2 separate regions of the Homo sapiens genome follow, and region 2 is linked to region 1. Evidence: promoter capture Hi-C in human tissues and cell types (Jung and others, 2019). All regions are on one chromosome and are shown on one strand. Each heading gives the region's core, a stretch centred on a gene start or on the middle of the fragment in contact. The rest is flanking DNA. Distances are from core to core; before and after follow the strand shown.

Evidence for each region. The method cuts DNA at HindIII sites, captures the fragments that hold promoters and counts their contacts. A contact is called where the count stands out against the background at its distance.
Region 2: a contact is called between a fragment that was not itself captured here and the fragment with the promoter of UBR7 in region 1, in 1 of the 25 tissues and cell types used here (hippocampus).

The regions. Positions count from the first base shown.
Region 1 is chr14:93,205,866-93,208,565 of GRCh38, forward strand. It overlaps UBR7 (ubiquitin protein ligase E3 component n-recognin 7), which reads left to right and starts at 1,391. Exons shown (of 11, transcript NM_175748.4): 1 at 1,391-1,576. The coding sequence starts at 1,427. It overlaps GON7 (GON7 subunit of KEOPS complex), which reads right to left and starts at 1,200. Exons shown (of 2, transcript NM_032490.5): 1 at 965-1,200. The coding sequence starts at 1,172. RefSeq lists an enhancer at 437-1,296. The HindIII fragment of the contact is 21,573 bases long and covers 1-2,700 here.
Region 2 is chr14:93,256,102-93,258,801 of GRCh38, forward strand. BTBD7 (BTB domain containing 7) reads right to left here. Exons shown (of 11, transcript NM_001002860.4): 6 at 1,094-1,254. Among named protein-coding and RNA genes, the nearest start is that of UBR7, 50 kb to the left of the region's middle. The HindIII fragment of the contact is 3,260 bases long and covers 1-2,700 here.

The DNA of each region.
Region 1 (2,700 bases), core at 141-2,640:
TTCCAAGTATGTCTGTAGTTTCACACCTGATAAAACTCCTTTTTATTCAACACCCAGCTCAAAAGTCTTATCCTTTCTGAAGACTTCCTAGGGTGTCTGGGTTTGCAACAGTTACAGAGGACCACAGAACCACTTTCACTTTTTTTTTCTTTTTTTTTGAGACGGAGTCTCGCTCTGTCGCCCACGATAGAGTGCAGTGGCGCGATCTCGGCTCACTGCACCCTCTGCCTCCAGGGTTCAAGCGATTCTTCTGCCTCAGCCTCCCGAGTAGAGTAGCTGGGACTACAGGAGCATGCCACCACGCCCAGCTAATTTTTGTATTTTTAGTAGAGACAGGGTTTCACCATATTGGCCAGGCTTGTCTCGAACTCCTGACCTCGTGATCTGCCTGCCTCGGTCTCCCAAAGTGCAGGGATTACAGGCGTGAGCCACCAGCCCGGACCACTTCCACTTTTAATAAGAGTGTCTGCCTGTCTAGTCCCCTTGTGTTTCACAAGGGCAGGAACTGAGTCGCATTCACCTCATTCTTCCTCCAGGGCTCAGCTCAGGGTTTGGCACATAATAGTAGGCATTCGACACGTTTTTTTGTGAAATAAACGAAATAGCGATGAGTTGTGGAAACGCTTGAGTAGAAGCAGCCCAAATAAATATAGTGATAAATGCCAACAATTTTTATTTTTTAAATTATTTTAAAAATAATAATAGAAACGGGGTCTCGATATGTTGCCCTGGCTGTTCTGGAACTCCTGACCTCAAGTGATCCTCCTGCCTCGCCCTCCCAAAGTGCTGGGATTACAGGCGTGAGCCCCACTTCGCCTAGCCCGCCAAAAATTTTTAGATGCAATTCTTCTTTCCTCGAGGCTCACTTTGTCCAAGTCTGCCACTCTACACGGGCTCCCCAAGCCAATTTCCCCTGGGCGCCCGCCCCGTCCTCCGGTCACTGCAGCACCGTCTCAGAGCTCACCGTCCAAGTCCTCGTCTGGAGCCGCCGCCACCCGGTGCTGCACTTCCCCCTGTACCAGAGGGTCGAATAATTCCGTTACCATGTCCTTCATCTGGGCCACGCCAGACAACAGGCCCTGGAAAGGGTCGCCGTCACCCGGCGCCTCACAGGACACCCGCAGCTTCTGCGGCTTCCCTTCCTGCCCGACGTACTCTCCCAGCAGCTCCATGGTGACCGCTAAGCTTCCAGAACACGACACCGGGAAGCGCCACCCGGAGGCGGAAATCAGCCCGCGTCCGGCGCAGGCGGGAGAAGGGAGAGGAGTGACATCCGTTTGTCGGAAGTCGCTCCTCCCCCTTCCTTCGCTTTTTTTCCTTGTCATTGGTTCCTGGCACTCGGGCCCCACCTCCTCCGGCTACGCCCCTCACGGCCGCTTTTCCCGCCTCCGCCGGGGCCGAGCCGCTGTTCGGCTGACAGTTGAGGATGGCCGGAGCCGAGGGCGCCGCTGGGCGGCAGTCGGAGCTGGAGCCCGTGGTATCGTTGGTCGACGTCCTTGAGGAGGACGAGGAGCTGGAGAATGAGGCGTGCGCTGTCCTGGGCGGCAGCGACTCCGAGAAGTGCTCCTACTCTCAGGTGGGCGCGCGGCCCGGGCCTCCTCTCCCCCGGCTCCCGCCGAACCTCCCCTTCCCGGCCCGGCTGTCCCTATTCCCGCCTTGCCGCAGTCGTCTCCCCAGTGGTGGTCCGGGGCCGCCGTTAGTCTGCCGCTTCCTCACCCCAAGCTCACCCTTCCCTTTTAACCCCAACCTCCTGGGCCCCCTTCAGCCTGTGTCCAGCAGGGGCCCCCCTCTCCCCTGTCTCCAACTCTGTCCGGCCCGCCAGGAAGGGCCCTGGAGCAGCTGCTCTGTCCGTCCTCTCCAGCCTCTTCTTGGTGCACCACTGCTTTTCACGAAACCACCCCGCGACCTCTCAGATCCAGACATCTTTGTCCCTGATTTTCCCATCCTAAGATTATTTATTTATTTATTTATTAGGGACCGAATGGGAGAGTCAGGTTAAAGAGATTTTCAAATCCATAGGGATTTGCGGTGAGCTCCTTGACAGCTAGTTCCTCTGCAATTTAGTTGGACAAGTGCTAGCTAGTACTTTTTCTTTCTTTCTTTTTTTGGCAAAATGAAGCAAGTACCCATGTCTATCTGCAGTCTGCCCCCCTCCCCTGGAAATAGACCGGAAACAGAACAGCAAGTGGCTCTGGCAAGGGAGGGGAGAGAGGAGAAAAGGATCTGTTTGGCATTTGGAAGACGTTGTGAGTGAGCAAGTGTTTGAGGGGGTGTGATGTGGTGTTTAGTGACTCACCCTACACTTCGAGGTACAAAAATGGAAAAGGATGGGTAGGAAGAAGACTGACAAAGGATGAGAATTGGTAGGAAGAAGGGTTACCTAGGAAGAGGGGTGGATTGGAACACTGGGGAGATGAGGGGAGAGACTTGTATTCATTATGTGGTATGAACTGAGATCATAATACCAGTTCTCGTTGTTGACCAAGGTTAGTTTACACTGCAAAGTGCTAGATTGTTGAATAAACCTGGTATCCAGACATAGCCCCAGGTATTTTAAAACCTTTGGTCACCACTAAAACAATTTTTCCCCTGCTTTACTTAAAAAAAAAAAAAAGAAAAAAGTTATGTCTATATGTAAACTATTTTTGAAGTGTAGTTACCTTTATAAAATGGATTCCTTAATATTTTCTTTGTGGTAAA
Region 2 (2,700 bases), core at 156-2,655, 50 kb after region 1:
ATGTTTCCATTTAGTATTTAATTCTTCAGTCTAACAAGGATTAATTTTGTGTGCCAGTGAAACGATGGTTTAACTTTCAATAAATTTCTTCTTCTGCTAATCAGTTAATCTAGCACCACATTGACTTGTGATAGTTCGTTTATTATTATGTTTTGTTTTTTTTCCAGAAGACTTTTATAATGTTTTATAATGTTCCTGTGCAGTTAGAAAAAACATATTATGATGTTTATAAGCATTATATTAAGTTTATAAGTCAATGTGTGAAGAACTAATATTTATAATATTTATTTTTCCCATCCATGAATTCAAGCAATTCTATTAATTTTTTTTTTTTTGAGATGGAGTCTCGCTCTGTCACCCAGGCTGGAGTGCAATGGCTCGATCTCGGCTCACTGCAACCTCCACCTCCCCAGTTCAAGCAATTCCCCTGCCTCAGCCTCCCGAGTAGCTGGGATTATAGGCATGCACCACCACGCCTGGCTAATTTTTGTATGTTTAGTAGAGATGGGGTTCTACCATGTTGGCCAGGCTGGTCTCAAACTCCTGACCTCAGGTGATCCACCTGCCTTGGCGTCCCAAAGTGCTGGGATTACAGGAGTGAGCCACCGCGCCCAGCCAATTATATTAATTTTTAAAAAATTCACTGTTTAAAAAATTATGAAAGTAACAAGATGAGCTCTATTAATTTTCAGGTCCATCCATTCTTTTTCTATTCAACCAATCCCTCCACTCCACTACTCTCTGATTCACTGCTGTTCTTGAAGACTCTTCAAAGGTAATTTCTACCTTTCCCTTTTTGAATAAGGGTCTACTTGATCTACACTTAAATGACAGAATTAACTCTGCTAGAAATAATGCTCTTGCATGAGTAAGACCTATTTACCCACTCAACTCTCATTCACTGAACATTTTAACTGTATTATGTGGAAGACACAGGAGATACAACATCGTACACAATAGACATCTGTCTCTGTCCTCACAGAATTACAGCTTCACAATACTCTATTAGTAGCAGAAATTATTTACAATGAATAAAAACATACACCTGGCATTTTTCTTTTCATGAAAGGAATACATGGAGAAAAACACTTACTGCATCACTTAAGACTTCACTGTTTATAGGTAAGATGTGTTCAATTCGCACAAAAGGTAAGAGAGAAGAAAGGATCTCTCTGAGCTCTTCCATGTCCAGGTCCCGTCTTTTTACACCTCTTTTGTTCACACTATGGGCAGTGCCACTCAGTAAGTTTGGCTCTATGAGACAGAAAATGAAAAGTTTCCAACCAAATCCAAATGTTCTGAGACAGGTTTCCTTTGTTCTCTAGTACATACACTAACAGTACCACTCTATAGACTTATGTGCCTCTGCTTTAAAAAGGGTTATAAATCAATTATTTTCTTTCATGTTTGTTTAATAGGGATGTTCTTGGATAAAGAAAAAGCATGGTATCAACAGTACAATAAAATTATTTTATCACTGCTCTGCAATAAAGAATAAAGGATTCCTTTCTATAGACTAACTCAAAAGAGAAAAGATGACAATCTACTAAAATCTAGTTTTATCAAGGGCTTTTTAAAAAGCCTTCTCACTTTTGTGACCAGTGTTTAGTAGTATAAGGTCATTGTAGAGCATATGCCATTTCTGGTCACTGTAAGTTATCAGTATGCTCATTAGCCTACATATGTGTAACAGTAATTTAACAACATGTTAATCACTTGGTGTTTGAAGCAGCAAAGCATAATGTGCTTTATTTGGTTTTAAGATTTTTATGAAAATCTCCCAAATTTCCATAATATGGGAACATTACTGCATAAAAGTAGACCCTTTGATCTTTGACATGTAATATATGTCCATCATCCAAGGCAGAGAATGATTTCTTCATTGGGCATTAGTGAACAACAATCTGAAATACATGTATGCTTATGCTATTGAGGTGGGAAGAAAAATTATGTAATTTGGAAATCTTTAATCATGGCTTTAATCTAGGGGTCTGTAATTTTTTTCTTAAAAAAATTAACACAGAATAAGATCTTATTATTCATGAAATGCTGGATTTTTTTCAAATATTCTACAGGAAAACTGGTATCTTCCTTAAATCGTGTGTGTGTGTGTGTGTGTATGAGAGAGAGAGAGAGAGAATTGATTGTTTTTGAGAAGCTAAGTTTTTTTCTGGATTCATTCAGAATAAAATTGTTAACTGTGTAGAAAAGAGTCATTTTTTTCCCCCTTGCCTAGCTATGATTTAGCTTCATACTTATTTAAGGCATTCTGCTTTTCAAAATATTTTTTTTTCTTAAAGTAGTGACATCCTGTTTTCATATAAAATCTTACATGAAACCCCCAAATATGTGACAGGTAAGTGCAGAATCCTCCTGTATAAAACTGACTGAAACAAAGCTATGGCCTGGTTCACTTAGCTTCCTTCTTATCCTTGCAGAAGAACCTTCCACTAACCCAGTGTGGAAACTACCTTTTATTTATTTTTTTATTATTATTTTTTAAGATGGAGTCTTGCTGTGTTGCCCAGGCTAGAGTGCAGTGGCATGATCTTGGCTCACTGCAACCTCCACCTCCTGGGTTCAAGCGATTCTCCTGCCTCAGCCTCCCAAGTAGCTGGGATTATAGGCACCCGCCACCACACGCAGCTAATTTTTCTATTTTTAGTAGAGATGGGGTTTCACCATGTTGGCCAGGCTGGT